Regions from separate parts of the Homo sapiens genome. Here region 1 is linked to region 2. Evidence: promoter capture Hi-C in 16 types of primary human blood cells and fetal thymus (Javierre and others, 2016). All regions are on one chromosome and are shown on one strand. The core of a region is centred on a gene start or on the middle of the fragment in contact, and the rest is flanking DNA. Distances in the headings are between cores, read along the strand shown.

What was found. The method cuts DNA at HindIII sites, captures the fragments that hold promoters and counts their contacts. A CHiCAGO score of 5 or more calls a contact.
Region 1: a fragment that was not itself captured here is called in contact with the fragment with the promoter of ARIH1 in region 2 in 1 of 17 cell types (naive CD8 T cells); the score reaches 5.2 in naive CD8 T cells.

The regions. Positions count from the first base shown.
Region 1 is chr15:78,867,808-78,873,319 of GRCh38, reverse strand. It overlaps MORF4L1 (mortality factor 4 like 1), which reads right to left and starts at 430. Exons shown (of 12, transcript NM_006791.4): 1 at 263-430. The coding sequence starts at 302. RefSeq lists a silencer at 399-658. The HindIII fragment of the contact is 1,335 bases long and covers 925-2,259 here.
Region 2 is chr15:72,470,538-72,476,539 of GRCh38, reverse strand. ARIH1 (ariadne RBR E3 ubiquitin protein ligase 1) reads right to left here and starts at 2,210. Exons shown (of 14, transcript NM_005744.5): 1 at 1,526-2,210. The coding sequence starts at 1,900. It overlaps TMEM202-AS1 (TMEM202 antisense RNA 1), which reads left to right and starts at 2,301. Exons shown (of 4, transcript NR_135678.1): 1 at 2,301-2,665. RefSeq lists enhancers at 1,087-1,296, 2,747-2,846 and silencers at 1,847-2,076, 2,119-2,315, 2,167-2,506. The HindIII fragment of the contact is 10,721 bases long and covers 535-6,002 here.

The DNA of each region.
Region 1 (5,512 bases), core at 343-2,842, 6.4 Mb before region 2:
AACACTTGACGAGGGTGTGCCACGCGCCAAACGCTCTCTCTCCCACTCTAACGCCTGCGCAGCACTCTCGCTTCACAAAGCGCTTTCTCACAATGACGCACCGGAATTGCCATCCGCAATGCGCTTTCCCCGCACAAAGCACTGACCGCCGCCTTCTCAGGGCGCAGCCCGCGCCGCCCCCGGCCCTCAAGCCTCAATCACCTCGAGCCCGCCTCTATCTCCTGCGCCGTTAGGTGCCTTTTTCCCAAAGGCGCACACTCACCCTCCTGGAATTTAGGCTTCGGGTCCTGCTTCGGCGCCATTTATAAGTGATTCGCCGCCTCCTCCTTCTCCCACCACCCCCGACTACCGCCCCCTACTCTCTACCCCACCCAACTCCGCGTCAGACGCGCCGTCAGGCACTGCCAGCTCTACATCCTGGGCCGGATTTGCCAGCGCCCGCAGACCTCACAGCACCGCGACCCGCGCAGCCGCTGCTCCAGCCAACGACAGCCCGCCGCGCACGCGCCCCTGCGCCCGCGCCGCCCCAGGGCACGCCGGGACTGGTAGTTCGGAGTCGGTGGAGGCGCCCCCCCCCCCCCCCCGGGTGGGGGAGGGGCCGGCTACCCTACCCCACCCCACCCCCGCTTCTCTCTCCATGCCCCCGGCTGCTGCGGGTTGGTAAAGCGGGGATTTGATTTCGTGGGAGGTTAAGGCGGAGCTGGCGATGGGGGAGAGTGGGGGTGGTGAGCCACCAGTGATAATAGAATGGGAAAGGCCCAGTTGCGACGTCCCTTGGGCAAATAAGCCCCCGTTGATGTTGAAGTAGTCGGAGAGAATAGGGCTGGCTCGGAAACCTACATTCAATAGCATTCCGCTAGTTTTTGCATAGAAAGGCTTTAGGATCAGCAAGAGGGTGGGAACTGGGGTCCGCTTCTGGAAGCTTCGTTGTTTAGCAACCCCACTGCGGAGCCTATTTGGTGGGATTGATAGCCATTTGTTGGCTCCTAGGTCTACCTCCTCTTCTCCAGCCCAGCCTTGCGGAAATGAGGATGATGACGTGGGAAACACTAGTCACGCTTTAGCTTTTTGAGATAATGGAGCTCTGCTTTCTGAAAAAGGCTAGTGTGAATATGTCAACGTCTGTATTCCGTACCTGCCCTGTTTGTGCTTCTTGTCACTCTAAACAAACGGATTTCTTCAATATTATACCTTTTTTTTTTTTTCTGAGATGGAGTGTCGCTCCGTTGCCCAGACTGGAGTGCAGTGGCGCGATCTCTGCTTACTGCAGCCTTCGCCTCCCAGGTTCAATCGATTCTCCTGCCTCAGCCTCCGGAGTAGCTGGGATTACAGGCATGTGCCACCACGCCCAGCTAATTTTTGTATTTTTAGTAGATACTGGGTTTCACCATGTTGGCCAGGCTGGTCTGGAACTCCTGACCTCGTGATCCGCCCGGTTTGGCCTTCCAAAGTTCTGGGATTACAGGCGTGAGCCACCGTGCCTGGCCTAAACAAACGGATTTATGTCGTTCCCTGTTCAAAAACAACTTTGTTGGCTAAGCTGCAAAATAGCACCATTTCCGTCAGTTTATTGTGAGAATTACATATACGGGCTTAGCGCGGTACCCAACAATGAATAAGTGCTCAATGAACTTTAGACGATAAATCTCAAAGTCCTTAGCCTGGTATTTAAATCCTTCCACAAACAGCCCTTAGCCTACCTGCATCCCCTATGTAAACCTTTATCCTCCTACGCAAACCTTTGTCTCCATGACTTTTCTTTTTTTTTTTTTTCTTTCTGAGACGGAGTTTCCCTCTTATTAACCAGGCTGTAGTGCAAAGGCGCGATCTCAGCTCACTGCAACCTCTGCCTCCCAGGTTCAAGCGATTCTCCTGCCTCAGCCTCCCGAGTAGCTGGGATTACAGGCATGTGACACCACACCGGGCTAATTTTTGTGTTTTTGTAGAGATGGGGTTTCTTCATGTTAGTCAGGCTGGTCTTGAACTCCCGACCTTAGGTGACCCGCTGGCCTCGGCCTCCCAGAGTGCTGGGATTACAGGCGTGAGCCACTGCGCCCAGCCTGTCTCCATGGCTTTTCTAAGCCCTCCCCTGCCCGGGTTCCACACCCCACCAATTCCGGGCCCCTCTCCATTTATCTGACTTCCATTTCTCCTTCAGTCTTTTTAACACAACCCCTTCTCTGACAACAGAAACCCACAAAAACCTTCCTTATTCCAGTTGAATATACACCATCTTGTCACGACTACTTCTCGCAAGCTTGTCCAACCTGTCTTATTTTGTTGTTGTTTTGTTTTGTTTTGTTTAGGCTTTTAGCACCCTGAAGCCATGGTTTTTAGTTTCAGTCTCTAGTGATAAGTGGAAAAGGGGGATGAGGAAGGGGCTTTACTGGCCCAACCAGAAACAGAAACTAAGAACCCATGACTGTATTCACTCCCTTGGACACCATTGCTAAATTGTAAAAAGGGACAAGGGCTTCTTTGGACCCCACCCCACCAAAACTGTCCTGTACACTTTTAAATTTTTTATTGAATATAAAATACGTACTTTTTTTAAATTATTTTTTTGAGACAGTCTCGCTCCGTAGCCAGGCTGGAGTGCAGTGGCACAGTCTCAGCTCACTGCAACCTCTGCCTCTTGGGTTCAAGCGATTCCCCTGCCTCAGCCTCCTGAGTTGCTGGGACTCGGTGTGCCATCACGCCCAGCTACTTTTTTGTATCTTAGTGGAGATGGGGTTTCACCATGTTGGCCAGGATGGTCTCGATCTCCTGACCTTATGATCCTCCTGCCTTGGCCTACCAAAGTGCTGGGATTACAGGCATGAGCCACTGCGCCCAGCCAATTTTTTGTTGTTGTTGTTGTTATGAGACCAAGTCTCACTCTGTCACCCAGGCTAGAGTGCAGTGGTGCAGTCTCAGCTCACTGCAGCCTCCACCTCCTAGATTGAAGCGATTCTTCTGCCTCAGCCTCCCAAGTAGCTGGGTTTACAGGCGCATACCACTATGGCCGGCTAATTTTTGTATATTTAGTAGGGATGGGGTTTCACCATGTTGGCCAGGCTGTTCTCGAACTCCTGACCTCAGGTGATCCACCCGCCTCGGCCTCTCAAAGTGCTGGGATTACAGACGTGAGCCACTGCGCCCAGCCTGCACATACTTTTTTAATCCAAACGTTTAAAAATACAAAAATGAAAATAGTGGGCCGGGCGCGGTGGCTCACGCCTGTAATCCCAGCACTTTGGGAAGCCAAGGCAGGCGGATCACGAGGTCAGGAGATCAAGACCATCCTGGCTAACACGGTGAAACTCCATCTCTACTAAAAATATAAAAAATTAGCTGGGCGTGGTGGTGGGCGCCTGTAGTCCCAGCTACTCAGGAGGCTGAGGCAGGAGCATGGCATGAACCCAAGAGGCGGAGCTTGCAGTAAGCCGAGATTACGCCACTGCACTCCAGCCTGGGCGACAGAGTGAGGCTCCATCTCAAAAAAAAAAAAAAAAAGAAAATAGTGAAAGTCTCTTTCCCACCTCCACCCCTCATCTGCCCAGTTCCCCCACTGTTATGAGTTGTTTGGGAATCCATGAGTTTTTTTATCCTAGAACCCTCTTTGTGTTATTTCTTCTTTTGTATTGAAGTTAACTTATTTGCCTTTATGTGTTAATTACACAGGTAATATTCAAATATTTGGGCTCATGATGCAACAATTGAGAAATATAAAATACAGGGCAAAACTTAAGGAACATGTTTATTCCCCGCTCCCCCCATTTACCTTCCCACCATTTGGCGTGTGCATTTTTCTCCATTTTTTTTTTTTAACCATAAATGGTCTGTACATATTGTTCAGTTGCATTCTTTTTTTTTTTTTTTTTTGAGACGGAGTCTCGCTCTTTCGCCAGGCTGGAGTGCAGTGGTGAGATCTCGGCTCACTGCAACCTCCGCCTCCCGGATTCCAGCGATTCTCCTGCCTCAGCCTCCTAAGTAGCTGGGATTACAGACGCCCGCCACCATGCCCGGCTAAGTTTTGTATTTTTAGTAGAGACAGGGTTTCACCAAGTTGGCCAGGATGGTCTCGATCTCTTGACCTTGTGATCCGCCCGCCTCAACCTCCCAAAGTGCTGGGATTACAGGCGTGAGCCACCACGCCCGGCCCAGTTGTATTCTTTTTTAACATAATAATATATCTTGGAGATTGTTCAAATTACATACAGGCCTATCTCACCTTTTTTTTTTTTTTTTTTTTGAAACAGCGTCTTGTTCTGTCTCCCAGGCTGGAGCACAGTGGCATGATCATGGCTCACTGCAGCTTGCAGCTCCTGGGTTCAAGTGATCCTCCTGCCTCAGCCTCCCCAGTAGCTGGGACTACAGGTGGATGCCACCACACCCAACTAATACTTTTATTTTTGCAGAGATGTGCTCTCGCTATGTTGACTGGGCTGGTTTCCAACTCGTAGCCTCAAGTAATCCTTCCACCTCTGCCTCCCAAAGTGGTGGGATTACAAACATGAGTCCCTCACATTTTCAATAGCTTTCGACATACCATAGTATAAATATTTCAAGATTTATCTAATCTTTGTGCACATTGCTTTTTCTTTTCTTTTTTTTTTTTAAGAGACAGGGTCTCACTATGTTGTCCAGGGTAGCGTGTCAACACAGCCAGGCTATGTTGTCCTGGCTAGAGTGTCCAGCCTGGAATCCTAGGCTCAAGCAATCCTCACGCCTCAGCTTCCAGAGTAGCTGGGAATACAGATCACGCCACCATGCCTGCCTTCTGCACTTTGCTTTTATTTTTTCAGGACCCAAGAAGTAGAATTACTAGGTCAAAGAATGTGGGCATTTTAAATTGCCTTGTGAAAGGTTTCATCATTTTACATTTCAACTAGCAATTTAAGAAAAGGCTTGTTTTTCCACATTCTTGACAAACATGGCATCATGGAGTCTCTGAAAACTGGTGTTTGTTTTTTTTGAGATGGAGTCTCACCCTGTCGCCCAGGCTGGAGTGCAGTGGCACGATCTTGGCTCACCGCAACCTCCGCCACCCGGGTTCAAGCGATTCTCCTGCCTCAGCCTCCCAAGTAGCTGGGATTACAGGCACCTGCTACCATGCCCAGCTAATATTTGTAGTTTTAGTAGAGACAGGGTTTCACCATCTTGGCCAGGCTGGTCTTGAACTCATGACCTCATGATCCACCCGCCTCGGCCTCCCAAAGTGCTGGGATTACAGGCGTGAGCCACTGCGCCCAGCCTGTTTTTGTTTTGACGTGGAGCCTCGCTCTGTCACCCAGGCTGGAGTGTAATGGCATGATCTCGGCTCACTGCAAACTCCACCTCCCGGGTTCAAGCGATTCTGCTATCTCAGCCTCCCGAGTAGCTAGGATTACAAGTGCACGCTGCCATGCCCAGCTAACATTTTGTATTTTAGTAGAGACGGGGTTTCACCGTGTTGCCCAGGCTGGTCTTGAACTCCTGAGCTCAGGCCATCCACCTGCCTCAGCCTCCAAAAGTGCCAGGATTACAGGTG
Region 2 (6,002 bases), core at 961-3,460:
ACAAAAAATTAGCTGAGCATGGTGGAGCGCGCCTGTAGTACCAGCTACTTGGGAGGCCGAGGCAGGAGAATTGCATGAACCCGGCAGGCGGAGGTTGCAGTGAGCAGAGATTGCGCCATTGCACTCCAGCCTGGGCGACAAAGCAAGACTCCGTCTCAAACAAACAAAAAATTATCTTCTACAATCCTCAACTTCCTTCTTAGACTGTGTTCTCTAGATTAAAAATGAAGACTTCCACTATTTAGTAATGGCACTAGATATCAGAGATTTTTCTATTATGCAAAACACTGTATTGAAACAGTGCCTGAATAGATGCTTCAATTTTTAAAACTGTTACTTATAATACTATAAAAATCAGTTAATAATAGAAAGTCAACGAGTTGACAGTGACATACTTCTAATTTGTCAATGAATATTTAGCCAACCAATTTAAGTTAAACAAAAAAGAAATAATACTGATAAAAGAGGCAATAGTAACTTGCTGCTCATATATGTTTCCTTCCAGGTTTTCTAAAAATTGCACTGAATCAAGCTTCATTTTTATTCTTCAGCCATATCCCTGACTCCTCAGGAGAACTGAGGTTTTTTTTTTCCCCAAATGAAAACTTTTGAGTTTCTAAAGCTCAAAAATGCAAAATCTGACGCACATGGTTAAATGAGATGTGGTTATCAACTTACACCAAGCCTAACTTACCACAAAATAGAAAATATCAGAGAAAGGAGTTCACAAGCAGAAAACCTCTGCTTTCTAACTCACAATAGAGTCTTGTCCAATATTAGACAACACTGCGTTTTGTTGTTGTTTTAGCTACAAGGAAGGGTATGCAATATGCAGTAACTATTCCAACAGCTTCAAGCAAGTCATCTGCTACGACTAGAAAAAGTAGCAATTAGGTCCCAAACAGCAAAGACATAAAAAAGATGTAAGCAGAAGCCTCACCATCTGAAAAGAAGGCCCATCAGCACCTCTTCCGAGAAATACTTCCCTTCCCCCACCTTTAAGTAGGCACTTGAGACTGCCAAGATCCATTTCTTTATTAACTGGTGCCCACTTGGGGCAACTGTACACCAAGCTGCTCTTAGGCCTACTCTAATCCCTTCCAAAAGTGCTCAAATGAGGCTACGGCCGGGGTAAGTCCCGTCAGGGCCCAATTCTTCCTGACTCCTCTTCTCCACCCCACCTCCTCCGCCCCGCCCCAGTAGGCGATCGCCCGGCCAGAGAAAGGACACCCGGCCCAGGGACTGGCAGAAATTGCCCGCAAGAGAAGGCTTAGGCGACCGAAGGCCTCCGCCATAGCAGGACTTGGGAAGCACCGCCCCCAGCGCACCTCCCCACACCCGGCTAATCGGCGAACCTCTGCTTTCGACACCCTCTATCCCCAGCAGAGGCAGCGGAGAAGACAAGGCCGGGAGGCACCGGGCTAGGCTGCGCACCAGGCCCAGGCCTGTCCCTCGGGACCGCGCGTGCCGCCTGAATCCGCTCCCCCGTCGGGCCCGGTCCAGCTGGCGCGGCGGCCACCCTCACCTGGATGACCTCGTTGACCTCCCGGATACATTCCACCATGTGTTGTAGAATCTGCTCGGCCGTGAGCACCTCGTAGCGGTAATCCTCCTCCTGCTCATGCCCCGGCCCGCCACCACCACCGCCGCCGCCGCCGCCGCCGCCACCGCCGGGCCCCAGAGCGCTGCCGCCGCCACCGCCCGTCTCCCCGCACAGCAGTCCGTCCCGCTCCCCGCCGACGCCCAGCCCGGGCTCCACCAGCTCCACCTCGCCCAGATCCAGGGTATCATCGTCCGGCTCGTCGTCGTCTTCGTCCTCCTCCTCCTCGGCGCCGCTGTCCTCCTCACTGCACTCCTCGTCCTCGTCGAACTCGTAGTTGTAGCCCTCGTCCGAGTCCATGGCGCGACGCGCGGGGGCCCGGCGGACGCTGGCCGAGGCGGGGAGAGGGCGGGGACGCCGAGGCCCCGGCTCTCGCTCCGGCTCCGGCTGATGTCCGGACGCAGGCCTGGCTCCGGCCCCGCGAGCCGCGGCTCCTCCCCAGGAGCGGCGGTTGGCGTTTGACGGCTGGTGGCGGCGGGGAGGGCGCGGAGGAGGGAGGGAGGGAGCGAGGGGGCCGCTTGCTGCCCGCCTCAGTCAGACGCGGCTCCGCTCCGGCCTCCGAGAGAAAACAGTCCCCAACGCCACCTCCACGGCCGCTGCTATCGCTACTGAGCCAACAAAGGGGCGTGCGTCACCGCGTCGCGCTGCGTCGTCGCGTCACTCCTCTTTGCGTCACTGCGCCCCGCCCCACCGCCCCTGCGTGGAGCCCGGGGAGACCCCACGGCCCGGCCTTCCTGGGCCTGGGACCCGAGGGGAGCCGAGCGGGAATTGCTTTCCTGGTTCGATCCGCTGCCGCTGTGAGGGCCGAGCGGAAACCCGTAGACCTTTTATGTGAAGAGATTGCGGCCTCCTGGTCACCAGTCACCGAGAGAGGGACCCCTGGACCGCCTACGTGGTGGTGTCTGCCGCAGGCCATAGGGATCCAGCCCACTTAGGCAGTCCCTTGGGGACGCGGCCTTCCCTCCGGAGCGGAAAGGCGCTTCCCGCCCGCCCTGCGGTAATCCCGGAAGCCCTCAGCCGTTAAGCTAAAATTTCTGTTGCTTTGGCTACTGATGGAAACCTGTTGTAAGTGGAACCTCTAAACTGTATGACAGGTGAACCCACTTTAGGTAGCTGTGTGATTCTGTCCACTTGTACAGACGTGCAGTGGTTTTTAAGTCTCCTATAATGACGTCATTTTAAAGAGGCATTTCCTCCACCCCGCTGACAAGAGCGCCTCTTGAGGGCCCTAAACAATGTAAACAGCGATGATTTTCATGAATTGAGCACTGTGTAAGGGCTTTACATATATTCTGTCTCATCTTCACGGAGCCATAGTACCCATTTTATACCTGAGGAACCTGAAGCTCAGAAAGGAAAAGGGACCTGGCCAAGACCACATAACCCTTGCCCTATTTTAACCGCTGGATGCCCCAAAACATGAATCATAAAAATGCTTTGTAATGTAGATATATTATGTACTATGTAGTACATAAAAGACATGAATGCTTCAACAAAATACAGGCAATAATAGAAATATCTACAAGGGCCAAATGTAGCCAGAGAGATAATGCTTGAATCTCATCTGAAAGTGTGCTATGTGAGCTGAGTGTTGATGAATGGCTAGGAGTTCAACAGAGAAGGTAGGGAAGATGGTCTAGCCGCAGAGAACAAGCAAAAGCGCAGAAGGTGTCAAGTAAGTAATAGTTTGGGGAGCTTAAAGTGCATGGAGGGTACATGGCAAAATATTAGGCAAGTTAGTCAGGGGTCATGTCAGTTAAGAGCATTTTATGCCTAAGAGTGGGCTTAAATCTTTGCAAACAGGACATGCGAGCCAGAGAAGTGTTATGAAGGAAGAAGAGGCATAAGAAGGCTCCCTCTTGAGATAATCTGAAGAATTGGCCAGATTGAAAACCTTTTAAAATCAAAACCCCTGATTTGTTGATAAATCTTACTGTTCAACCTATAGGTTCCCTTTGGAAATTGATTTTGAAAAGTGAAAAATTCCATTATAATGTTAAAAAGCCTCTTCCAATTTGTCCATTTTGTAAGTTTTAAAATACCGATAATTATATTTCTTAACCTCAGGATTTACAAAGTAAAGCATTTAACCTCAATACTGGTAGTCTAGGTTTTTGTTGTTGTTGTTGTTGTTTGTTTTTTTCTTGAGACGGAGTCTCGCTCTGTTGCCCAGATTGGAGTACAGTGGTGATCTCAGCTCACTGCAGCCTCTGCCTCCCAGGTTCAAGCGATTCTCCTGTCTCAGCCTCCTGAGTAGCTGGGACTACAGGCGCATGCCACCACCCCAGGCTAATTTTTGTATTTTTAGTAGAGATGGGGTTTCACCATATTGGCCAGGCTGGTCTCGAATTCCTGACTTCAGGTGATCCACCTGCCTCGGCCTCCCAAAGTGCTGTGATAACAGGCATAAGCCACAGCGCCCAGCCAGGTCTAGGTTCTTTGATTCAGTGTTTCTATTTAGCAATTCTAGATTGCTGCCACAACTAAGGCAAGCCATGGACACAAGGAACACTTCTGTCCACCCCGTCTCCATTGTGATATTACCTACAGAAAAATTCAGTAACACTCGTCAGTACCCTAAACTCCTTTGCCTCACCTTTCTTTTCATTGTACCCCTATCTTGAATGAACCCTACCATCCATAGTCTCCACTTTGATAAATGGAGCAGCTGACCACTATTAGAGAAATGTGCATAGCCATCTGTATTCTATTACTACATTTCTTCTTTTTTTTTTTTTTTTTGGAGACACTCTTGCTCTGGCACCCAGGCTGGAATGCAGTGGTGCGATCACCACTGAAGGCTCAATGTCCCGGGCTCAAGTGATCCTCCCACTTCAGCCTCCTGAGTTGCTGGTACTACAGGTGCACACCACCATACCTGGCTAATTTTTTATTTTTTTTTACAGATACATCTCACTATGTTGCTCAGACTGGTCTGGAACTCCTGGCCTCAAGCAATCCTCCCACCTTGGCCTCCCAAAATGCTAGGATTACAGGTGTGAGCCACTACACCCAGCCTACTTAATTTCAATCACCAAGCACAACTCAACCTTCAATAATTCCCAGCAATCCTATTAAATTTTTCTGGATTGTTCTCCCACTCTCGACAACTCTTTCACACCTTTGCAGTTTCCTCAAACTTCAGCCCTGCCCTTTCACATCTTCTCAAAACATGTGACTTTTAGTCACAGAGGAATTTGAAAATATCAGGACCAATGTGACTTGAGACATGCTGAGCAAAGAAGAGGGTGTTAAGGGATAAAGTCAGAGAAAGCAGATCAAGGTAGGGGGCCAGTAGGGGCCTTGTAGGTCATCTTAAGAAGTTTACATTATTCCAGTGGCAATTATTAACGAGTTTTAAGCAGAAGAGTGAAACTATATGATCTGTGTTTTTAAAAAGATAACTGACTGCTTTATGGTGAATGGACTACGAAAACAAAGCAATTATGAGGCTATCTCAGTAGTCCAGGTAAGTAGATAATAGCCTGAACTAGGGTTGTGGCAGTGGAGGTGATAAGAAGTGGTCAGATTGAGATAGAATTTGAAAGAAGAGCCAAAATATTTGCTGGTGGCTTGACAGTGGGTTTGATGGAGGAAACAAGGATGCCTACTGTATTTGGAGCTTGAGCGACTGGGTGAATGGTGGCATCACTCACTGAAACATGTTATTTGAGGTGCTCGTTAGACATCAGGGTAGAGGTGTTGAGTAGGCAGTTCCATAAACTAAGATACAAGACTGAAGGTCAGGAAAAATTAGAGCTGGAGATACAATTTTACCAGAGTTTACACCAGCAATGTTTAGAAGCGGCATAGGATAAAGGTGAAGAGGATAAAAGTTATTGAAGCAGATGGATCTGAATTTGCCTATGCACCCCCCTGCCCCGTTGCTGTCTGTAACCTTAAGCAAATTACTAAGCCTCTCTTTTAGAGGTTTACTTTGGAGGATCATAATTCCTGTTCTCATAGGATTATTTGTGAGTATCAAATGAAATTATGTATTTAAAGCATTTGACACAGTACCTGGCACATAGCTAAGTACTCACAAAATCAGAGCTTTTAAAAAGTGTCATAAGTCACCTTTATAATCTTTTAATCAGTTTTGTTTATTTGTTTGTTTGTTTGTTTTGAGACGGAGTCTCACTCTGTCGCCCAGGCTGGAGCACAGTGGAGCAATTTCGGCTCACTGCAACCTCTGCCTCCCGGGTTCAGGCAATTCTCCTACCTCAACCTCCTGAGTAGCTGGGACTACAGGCACGCACCACCATGCCTGGCTAATTTTTGTATTTTTAGTAGAGACGGGTTTTACCATGTTGGCAGGCTGGTCTCGACCTCCTGACCTCATGATCCTCCCACCTCGGCCACCCAAAGTGCTGGGATTATAGTCGTGAGCCACCACACCCAG